Linked DNA regions of Homo sapiens: region 2 is linked to region 1. The links are contacts of gene promoters, found by promoter capture Hi-C in blood cells and fetal thymus (Javierre and others, 2016). All regions are on one chromosome and are shown on one strand. The core of a region is centred on a gene start or on the middle of the fragment in contact, and the rest is flanking DNA. Distances in the headings are between cores, read along the strand shown. Region 1 holds the start of DNAJC3 (DnaJ heat shock protein family (Hsp40) member C3). Region 2 holds the start of CLYBL (citramalyl-CoA lyase).

What was found. Contacts are between HindIII fragments. The CHiCAGO score rates a contact against its expected background, and 5 or more counts as called.
Region 2: a contact is called between the fragment with the promoter of CLYBL here and the fragment with the promoter of DNAJC3 in region 1, in 1 of 17 cell types (neutrophils). The highest score is 6.8, in neutrophils.

The regions. Positions count from the first base shown.
Region 1 is chr13:95,675,083-95,680,667 of GRCh38, reverse strand. It overlaps DNAJC3 (DnaJ heat shock protein family (Hsp40) member C3), which reads right to left and starts at 3,529. Exons shown (of 12, transcript NM_006260.5): 1 at 3,331-3,529. The coding sequence starts at 3,412. It overlaps DNAJC3-DT (DNAJC3 divergent transcript), which reads left to right and starts at 3,743. Exons shown (of 2, transcript NR_132117.1): 1 at 3,743-4,816. RefSeq lists silencers at 3,149-3,238, 3,469-3,708 and enhancers at 3,349-3,398, 2,745-3,591, 4,229-4,328, 3,592-4,439. The HindIII fragment of the contact is 3,320 bases long and covers 2,062-5,381 here.
Region 2 is chr13:99,605,349-99,610,342 of GRCh38, reverse strand. CLYBL (citramalyl-CoA lyase) reads right to left here and starts at 3,653. Exons shown (of 9, transcript NM_206808.5): 1 at 3,586-3,653. The coding sequence starts at 3,647. LOC105370332 (a long non-coding RNA gene) reads left to right here and starts at 4,494. Exons shown (of 3, transcript XR_931674.3): 1 at 4,494-4,581. RefSeq lists a silencer at 3,313-3,872 and enhancers at 3,594-3,888, 3,811-4,790. The HindIII fragment of the contact is 13,725 bases long and covers 3,163-4,994 here.

The DNA.
Region 1 (5,585 bases), core at 2,280-4,779:
CTGCATTTCCAGGCAGTTTCTCAGCAAATACTAACTATGTCAAGAGAACTGGAACTTTGATACTACTGCTAACTACAGCCTATCTTATTAAAGAATTTAAAATAATTCTAGAAAATATGTGACCACCTTTTATGATACTTAATTTATTTAAATTACTTAAAGTCACTCATTTTTGCTACTTTATTCTTTCCCTATTTAGATAATGTCAAGAAAATCCTAGAAAAGACAAAACATACCTTTAATAGGTTAGGTTCAAATAAAACTTATCATGGTTCAAATAAAACTTATCACAATATTTTATACGTATAGATTTTCAACTATATATTTTCAACTATTCTTTTCCCCATGGCCAAAATATATGGTTTAATCAGCTCAATGAAATAAAGAAAAATTGGGTCCAGATAGCATGTTAAGGAAGAAAAAGAGATAAAACTATGATAAGAGAAAAAAGGTTTCGTTCCCAGGCTGTGTTGCTACTCAAGTCACCAAGAGGACAAACCATTAGCAAAGAAATGAAATAACTTCCTTATCTGTAACATGAGAATACTAAAGCAGATACTACTAAAGTTTTCTTTCTATTCCAAAAATTCGATCTCATCTAGTGCTTTAGACTTCACTCTTTCAAACGCCTTTGAGAAGGGAGGGTGCCAAAAGACTCAAACTTTCAATTCATGATATATACTTTCTGTCTCTGGATGACAATTAACAGAAAAATCTAGAAGAAAACAAAGGCAAATATTTCAAAATCAGAAAAACACTAGGTTATCTCTTCCCCATCCTGTGCCACTCTTAGTTCCACATTCACTTCTCTCATAACCATTCTCCTTCATTTCTTTTTTTAAAAGTGAATTGTATTGTATATATTTGATGTTTACAACATAGTATTATGAGATATACACACATAAAATGGTTACAATAGTGAAGCAGATTAATAAGAGTGAAGCAGATTAATATATCTATCATCTCACATAATTACTTTTTGTGTGACAAGAGCAGCTAAAACCTACCTATTTAACAAAAATCCTTAATACAACACAATTTTATTAAGCCTCAGGCCTAGCAGTAGCACCATTTGCCTTTCAGAGAACTATGAGATTAGTGAATCCAGACACAATTTATTTGGGAAAACAGGGGCTAACGGTTTGCTAATTCAAGTCAGAGTTCTTACCTTTATATCCCTATCACCAAATCCAGTGTCAAATACATAGCAGACACCTAATTTAACTCCTCTATATAATTTATTACACCAGTGGTTCTCAAGTGTGGTCATCCAGGGTCTTTCTAGAAACGCAAAATTTCAGGTCCCATCAAGACCTAATGAATCAAACTCTGTAAGTGGGGTACAGCACTCTGTTTTAAAAAGCCCTCCATGTGCGATTCTGATGCACACTCAAGTTTGAGAACCACTGTATTAAACCTCCCAGGAAATAACCTTCTTGTTAATTACAAAAAAAAAAAAAAAAAAAAAGTGCTGATTTTTTTTCTCAGCTGCCATCACTTAAAAGTGCTTGGACTCACATGATGTTGTCAACTACTTAACTTCTGTCTCCAGCGTGCACACAAAATGAACTTTAGTAAAACCTTTGGAGCCTCAGTTCCCTGGTCTGTAAAGTAGGAATGAATACCACACGCTTTCGTGAATAAGATATGGCTTACAGAAAGGCTCCTTTCTTTCCTTTTTCTGTTACCTGTACTAAGTCCCTGCTATTTTACACAGACAATGGTCCTAAAGAAGACACTCTGGCACTCCTCTGAGAAATGTCACCAGTGCCTCCTACACAGAAAAGCTCTCAAATGTGGTTTTCTTATGGAAAATACCACAGGAGGGAAATGAAGAGTTAAGAGTCCTTACAGACTCATATACAGAACAGCAATTCTAAAAAGTAGTGGGAAAAGCAATCATTCAAAATTGTGCATCTCTGTAACTTAAAAAAAAAAATCACCATTAAACAGAACATAGGCAACTTTCTCTTAAGTGTCCAAAATAAATTATTAATGATAACTGGAGATAAATACTACAGATGAGGGATGGTGGGGTGCGGGGGCAGGAGGAATGAAGCTTTTGAAAATGCAAAAGAACTAGAATATATGACCCATATTAAAGTGGTACAGACCTTCAAATTCCAATCCCCTAGATTTTTCTGGGGGCAGCCTCACTGTCAAATTCTTTGTCCCAATGTTGCCACACTACGTGTTCTGATTTGGGGTTCAAAAAATATGGTTACCAGGGGAAGCAAAAGCAAAAGCCCATTGCTATGGGTGACACCTAAAAACTGGGGAGTACTACTTTAAAAAAAAAAGTTGAGAACTTTCAGAAGAATTCACTATAAACAATTCCCAATTTTTAGTTCCTCGCTCCCTTTGAATGGAATACTCAAAGGTTTAATTTGACCTCCTTGACAACTAGCCCTTTTTATGGGGATGAAAATAGATCAGTGCATGTGATGTGTCATTACACTCGAATATTTCGCACAGTAACCGCGCCAGAAGCATTCGTTAAATCGGCACTATCAACTTTAATTCTTACTCCTCCCCGCTGCCATCTAAGATAGGACAGCCCTCTATTTTCGCTATTCTGGAGTAGCCAACATTCCAGTCTGCAGGACTGAAGTGAAATTTAATCGTTCGTATCTTTTTAAGGGAACCTTTTTACAGCGAACTTGGAAAAGTAATGCCAGCCATACGTTGAATGACACCATGTTGGGAGTTGTAAAACCACAAACTCAGTGCCTGGCCGTCCGGGAGATGGAATTCCAACAGCGGCTCCTCATTGCACCAAACTAACAATTTCTCTACACGACAGTGCATCTTAATGGGGATGGTTACACACTTTTTAAATAGTCAACACTGTCCCCTCCAACTCCCAGCCGGACATGACACTCCTTCCCCACCCAAGAACTCCAGAGCGAAGGAAGTCTTTTGGCCACCTTAGTGCCTCCTCCCAGCCAGCACCAATGACTGACAGTGTCCCCAGGCGCCCAGCGAGGGTCCCAAGCGAGGCCAGGACCCAAAGGCTGCCCAAGTCTCCGCGTCCCAGGACTTCCTGAAGTCGTAGCCCGGTGCCCCCGCACCCCGCCTCCTCCGACTCCTGCGGCCCGGTTCCTTAGTCCAAACCCGCTGTCCCGGCCCCGCGGCCCGCCAGTCCCCTCGATTCTTCCCCAGACAAACCCGGAACCGGGCGCGGGCTCAGGCCCAAGCCAGGCCGCGGGCTCCCCCAGCGCTCGCCCCACCTCCCGAGCCGCTCCGGGACAGGCGCCCGGGCGCAGACGGGAAAGCGCGGGGGGCCTGGTCCGGGAGCCCACTTCCTGGCCGGGGCAGGGCAGGACTCACCTTCGTACTGCAGATCCACCAGGACTAGCAGGAAGGGGAATACCGAGCCCAGCCGGCTGGTCACGGAGCCGGGGGCCACCATGTCCGAGGGCTCGCGAGTGAAGAGGAGGAAAGGTGTGTGGCCCACCAGCACGCGCCGGCGCTCCGGCAGCAGCTGCGCCCGCCCGCCGTCGGCTCTCGCTCAGGCCTCAGTGGCTCTGGAGCCCAGCAGAGGAAGGCAGCGGTGGGCGGGGCCCGGGCGACGCTACGCCCCAGAGCGCCGCCGCCATCCAATCGCCTTCTTTCTGGCGGCTTTCCTCCCGGGCTCGCCGGGGTCGTGGTTCGCGCTGATAGGCTGCGGAGGCCGCCGCCCCGCCCCGTCCCTGATAGGATAACGTGGAAGCACGAGACGAGGCTGCGCCCGCCGGTCGCAGAGCTGTCAGCAAGCTCCAAACCGCGGCTGCCGCCCGGAGGGAAGCAGACGGGGAGTCGGTGGCGGCCGCCGAGTCCGCATGCGCAGGCTGCAAAGGCCCTTTTGGGCCGGTCCCGCCGCGCTAGGTTGGCGAGTGGGACTATTTGATCCTTTCCAGGTTCGCCAGCGTGGTGTTACGAGAGGAAAGCGCAGCCGCAGCGTACGAATGGGAAGGCCAAACACGGTCCCGGGGAGTCTGAGGGAAGCTGCAGGGCGCCTGGAATTGGGGTCTCGAGTGAGCCGGTAAAAACCGCCTCCCGCTGAGCGTCCCGGAACAAATACTGTCTGAACTGAGCCGTAAGCAAGAAACGGTCAGGAGAAGCTGGGGCGATCTGATGATTAGAACATTTCAGGGACTACCAGAGAGAAGTGCGTAATTGCTCTAAGGCAGGTAGGTAATTGGCCTGGAAACTTGGGAACGCCCCGCCCCCCACCCCGACTTTCAGCAAACCACCGTGCCCAGGAAAAAGAGCGATTGTGGAAGACCCTGTGAAGAAGAGACCAGGAAGGCACTGTGGCTTAAGAGAGCAAGGCGTTCCTGAATGCAGCCAACATCAACTGGTAAACAAAAAACTGTGAGAACGGATCCTGAATCTTGCGCTTACCAGGGGAAATTCAGGAGAGATATGAACCTGAGCAAGATGAGGTTGAAGTTACTCAATGCGGCATTAAGCCTGTTCACGGCCACTTCCTCCGGCGTCACCAACACACACACTGTACACCAGCAGTATTTTTACACGGGGTATGTGTGTTAAGTACTATCAGGTGGATAATTATTACTTCACCTGTATTTGCTGCCTTGATACCATTAGAGAAACTCATGAATTATAAATAGCATAGTGAATTTGTGATTCCCTGAAGATATACTAAGGTGGACTTTTAAAAAGGCTTCTATTCCAAAGGGAACTAATATGGAGGAAATGGTTTCGAGAAAGAAAAAAGAAAAAACGGAGTCCTTGATTAGTTGTGGGGAAGGCAACATAATGTAATGTGAAGAATAAAGGAGTCAGATCCAGGAAACCCCATAACTATTATGTAAGTTATCTTCATCTGTAAAGTGGTTAGGATCCTGATAGTCTCAAAGGTTTGTTTTGAGGTTTCATGAAGCAGATAAATATTCTTGTAAATTGTAGAATGTTATACCAGTGTTACTCATTATTCTAACAAGAGCAGAGTAGTGAAGAGAGGCTCCTTCAGAAATTCCTTGGGATTTTTTTTTTTTTGGCTTCTGTTTTTTTATATCACAAGGTAGTGTCTCTGAAAAATGGTAGATGATTTCAATGTCCACAAATATGCAGGTGTAGACATTCAATTGAGGTACTGTACCCAAGGCAGCCAGCAAAATGCTGAACATAGAAAATAACTTTGTAAACAAAATGCAATATTTCTAGACAGTGAGTTATCACCAGTGTGCTGCCTATGACCCTGGCCTTAAGGAAAAAGTAGCAGAGCTGAAGAAGTTCTAAGGATGGAAATTAAAAATTATTAAGGAGATAATAGACTTCGTGTTATAGGAAATAAAAATAGCAAGGGTCTTCAATGGTGAGTGATTTTGAGATTAATTACATAACTATGAATTCTGTAATATTAGAACTAAGCTTTACAAAGCATTCCTTAAAAAAAGATAATTTTACAACAAAGGTAACATTAGACAGAAAAAAATGTACAAAACTAAAATTAAGTGATTAATGCTTGGGAATGTTTCCTCCAATGTTCATCTAGTCATGGTTTTCACGAATCACTCTTGCCAATAAAACCGAAAATCAAAGTAATCTAGTGAGTGTAAGAAAAGTTACTGTAAATA
Region 2 (4,994 bases), core at 2,404-4,903, 3.9 Mb before region 1:
AGTATGACCTATACACACAGGAAAAAAGTAGTCAGTACAAACTGTCCCTGAGGAAGTCCAGATGTTGGACTTACTAATTAAATCATCTATTTAAAGTATGTTCAAAAAACGAAAGGAAACTATGCATAAAGAACTGAAGGAGTCCAGGTGCAGTCGTTCATGCCTAGAATTCCACTGCTTTGGAGGCCAAGGCAAGAAAATCATTTGAACCCAGCAGTTCAAGACCACCCTTGGCAACACTGCAAGACTCTGTCTCTTCAAAAAATTTAAAAATTAGCTGGGCATAGTGGTGTGTGCCTGTAGTCCCAGCTACTGGGGAGGCTGAGGCAGGAGGATCACTTGAGCCCAGGAGCTGCAGGCTGCAGTGAGCTACGATCTCACCACTGCACTCCAGCCTGGAGACTCCGTCTCTAAGAGAAAGAAAGAAAAAAAGAACTAAAGGAAAGTATGAGAACGATGTTTCAGTACATAGAGAATATCAATGAAGAGATAGAAAGTATAGAAAAGGGCCGGGCATGATGGCTCATGCCTGTAATCCCAATACTATGAGCGACAGAGGCAGGCAGATTGCTTGAGCCAAGTTCGAGACCAGCCTGAGCAACATGGCGAAACCTGATTTCTACAAAAGAATAGAAACAATTAGCCAGGTGCAGTGGTGCACACCTGTAGTCCCAGCTATTTGGGAGGCTGAGGTGGGAGGACAGCTTGAGCCCAGGAGGCAGAGGTTGTAGTGAGCCCAGATTGCACCACTGCACTCCAGCCTGGGTGACAGAGTGAGACTCATTCTCCAAAAAGAAAGAAGTTCTGGATTAAAATGAAAATGATTTGAGTTGGAAGACGGAGCAATCAGCAAACCTAAAAACAGGTCGGCTGGGCACGGTGGCTCACACCTGTAATCCCAGCACTTTGGGAGGCCAAGGCAGGTGGATCACGAGGTCAGAAGATCGAGACCATCCTGGCCAACATGGTGAAACCCCGTCTCTACTAAAAATACAAAAATTAGCTGGACGTGGTGGCGCGTGCCTGTAATCCCAACTACTCGGGAAGCTGGAGCAGGAGAATCGCTTGAACCCGGGAGTCAGAGGTTGCAGTGGGCAGAAATTGCGCCACTGAACTCCAGCCTGGTGACAGAGCAAGACTCTGTCTCAAAAAAAAAAAAAAAAAAAAAAAAAACAAAGACAGGTCAATTGACATTGTCCAGCCTGAGGAACAGAAAGAAAATGGAACAGTCTCAAAGACCTGTGGGGTTCCATCAACTACACCAACATATACGCAATGGGAGCCTCCGAAAGAGAAGAGAGAGATAAGAGAGTAGACTTTTTTGAGAGAACAATAGCCAAAAACTTCCCAAATTTGATGTATACACATCCAAGAAACTCAATAAACTTCCAAGAGGATAAACTCAAACAGATCTACACACATCATAATAAAACCACCGAAAGACCAAGACAAAGAGAAAATCAAGCAAAAAAAAAAAAAAAAAAAAAAAAAAAAAGACTCATCACTTACATAGAACCCTAATAACATTAACGTCTGAATTCTCATTAGAATAATGGAGGCAAAAAGACAGTGCGATAATACGCTTTAAAATGCTCAAAGGAAAAAAAATGCCAATCAAGAATCCTATATTCAGCGGGTAGACATGTCGAGAACAGACCAGTGTGCTAAGGCGGGTGAGGAGCACTGAGTTAACCCCCAGCGTACTGGCGTGGGGACTGTGTGCGCTCACTGGACCCGCTACTGAACAGGTCACAGACGCTGGCCCCCTCAAAAGGCGCCAGAAAAGGACCCTTCTGGACCAGCCTGGATACACTGCCTGAGCTGCTCCTCTAGGGCGAGGGGTGACTCCCCTGTGCCAGGGGCAGCGGAGGAAATGGGAAAGTGGGATGCATAAGACTAGGTGGGTCCTCCCATAGGACATGGGTGACTGAAGAGTCACAGTGCAAGAAGACGTAAGAAGTTCAGACCCAGGCCGGGCACGGTGGCTCACGCCTTTAATCCCAACACTTTGGGAGGCCGAGGCAGGTGGATCACCCGAGGTCAGGAGCTCCAGACCAGCCTGGCCAACATGGTGAAACCTCGTCTCTATTAAAAATACAAAAATTAGCCGGGCATGGTGGCGGACGCCCTGTAATCCCAACTACTCCGGAGGCTGCGGCAGGAGAATCACTTGAATCCGGGAGGCGGAGGTTGCAGTCAGCTGAGATGGCGCCATTGCACTCCAGCCTGGGCGACAAAAGCGAAACTCCATCTCGGAAAAAAAAAAAAAAAAAAAAAAAAAGAAGTTCCAGACCACCAGGCCGGCCATGGTGGCTCACGCCTGTAATCCCAGCACTTTGGGAGGCTGATCCGGGTGGACCCCCTTGAGGTCAGGAGTTCGAGAACAGCCTGGCCAACATGGCGAAACTCTGTCTCTACTAAAAATACAAAAATTAGCCAGGGGTGGTGGTGCACACCTGTAATGCCAGCCACTCAGGAGGCTGAGGCATGAGAATCGCTTGAACCCAGGAGGTGGAGGTTGCAGTAAGCCGAGATTACACCACTGTACTACAGCCTAGGTGACAGACCGAGACTCTGTCTCAAAAAATAAAAATAAATAAATAAAGAAGTTCCAGACCAGGAGCCATACACTTAGTGTTTGAACCAAACTCTCTCATTACTGGTCATAGGGCTTTGAGAATCCTTAACCTTTCTGACCCTGTTTTTTCATCTTTATAAACATGACACCCAACTTCTTCACATGGTGGTCAAGGGAACCAAATGAGACCATGTATGTGCACGTACCTAGGCGATGGGCAAGTGCTAGACCAGCGGTTCTCAAAGTGTGGTCCAAAGACACCTGAGGGGGTCCCTGAGACCCGTTGAGAGGGTCTGCTTGGTCCTCCCTTTCCCAACTAATATCTGCATCTGCATGAGCCCAGAATTTCTTTCAAATATTTCCTTCAAAACAGCTGATATGAGACTCCAGCTGTCCTTTATTAAACCAAAGAAATTTTCAAAAATATAAAAACCATGAGCCAATCTTCTCACTTTTTTTTTGAGAAGTTATGCATTAAAGTGTTATTTGTATTAAAAGTTAATGGGTTTGTTATTAAGTGAATATTTTTTAAATTTCTGGTTTAATTCCTCATGCACAAAAATCAATAGATATAAGCAAAAGCTTTGGGGGGTCCTCAAATTATTTTTAGACGTGTAAACGGGTCCTGAGACCAAACCGTTTGGGAACCGCTGTGTTAAACGAACCGCAGGTGTTCTTCACCAGGCAAGCCGCCTCTCAAAGACTGGCGCGTTCACGTTTGCCATTTGGGGGAGGCAGGCAGTTTTGTTTCCTGGGGCTGAGTCCAGGTAATTCGACCTAAGGTGTGTACCCATTTTCCGGGTGCAACGAGGGCCCTCCCAAAGGGAGGCGCGGGCGGCAGCGACCTTGGACGAGGTCGAGCCAGCGCGTGGGAGGCGCATGGTGCTTCCGTCCGGCTGGGTTCCCGTGAGGGCTTGGGGAGGCCGCGCCCGGCCCGCGGGGCTGCAACAGGAGCCGACCCGCGGCGAGCCGGGCCGGGAAGGCGGGGAACGGGGACCTGCACTCACAGCCTCAGCAGCGCCGCCGCCGCAGCTCCGCGCGCCGCCCTCCGCAGCAGACGTAGCGCCATCTTCCCGACGCGCGCGCCCCGCCCTTTGCCTTTAGCCACGCCCACCCCACATTCCACGCCCCCACGGCGACACCGACCCCCCCCCCGTCCCAGGCCCCGCCTCGCTCTGTCTTCGCCCCGCCCCGTCCCGCCAGCCACACCCCGCCAGCCACGCCCTCCTTCCTCCCAGCACCCGCTCCGCCCCGCGGCGAGTCCCGAGGTCAACTGCCCTCCCGGCCAGGGCTTAGGACCTTCGTCCCCGCTGTCATGGGGGACAGAGCAGAGGATCTGAATGGTTGGGGCCTCTTTGAGGGGCCTCTCTGGTGACCGAATCCAACTCTCTGAGCTTCTGAGTTTTTGAGGCAACTGTTGACAGACTGCGTTTTCCCAGCCAGAAGAGCCAACATTTCTAGGGATTTCTTCGCAGCTTTTGTTGTTAAAATACCGCCTAATACTTTGTGAGCCCCATCATGTGCATATCTTGGTTAGCAATTAATCTAGAGTGGTCAAAGTGCAGGAAGGCTGCATCCTGGAACACACATGCCTGCAATAGGTCAGAGCAGCTGTTGGCACTCTCTGGGCAGGGAAACTGACAGCAGCTCTTTACTCTGCCCCCTGCAGCCGTTCTGCAGCGGTGAGAACGCCGAGGCGTTAAAACAGGCTGGGCCCTGCCCCTGCCTCTTCTTTCACCTTCCCTGATCCAGCCGGCCTCCACCTGCCGACCTTCACCTACCCGGGCCCATGTTACCCCTTAACCATGTCTTTTCCTTGGCACTCGGCATGTTTCTTTTTCAGCTGTGACTCCGTTCCATTCATGCTCTAGACTTAAACCTGAAACCGTTTCTCAGAACCTTCCAGTGGAAGCTGACTTGTGCTCTTGGATGCAAAAAGTGGCCGTTTAAACAAACAAAAGCCTTTTCAGCCAGAGGGGGTTCCAAGATTTGGAAAAGTCCAGGTGACTGGGAACATGGATGCTAAACTTCTGCTGAGCCTAAGAATTATTGTTATATTCGATACCAACAGGGGAGACTGCTCAACCCCTTGGTGCCCTCCCCCAGCTCCCACGCCTGCTCCACCTCAGGCCTCGCCTGTCTACTCCAATTTGGTCACTTTCTTGTCACCACCTTAGTCCCAGCCAGTGCCCGGTCCAGCCATACTGAAGCCTGAGGCAAAGGCAATTTCAGTAACACCAATCCTGTCTTTAATTAAAATTTTGATATTTTGTTCATAATGGGATTTTTCCATTATCTTGGTTTTTAGTTTAGAATATTACTTTTTTTTTTTTTTTGAGACAGTCTTGCTCTGTCGCCCAGGCTGTAGTGCAGTGGCACGATCTCAGCTCACACACTGTAACCTCCACCTCCTAGG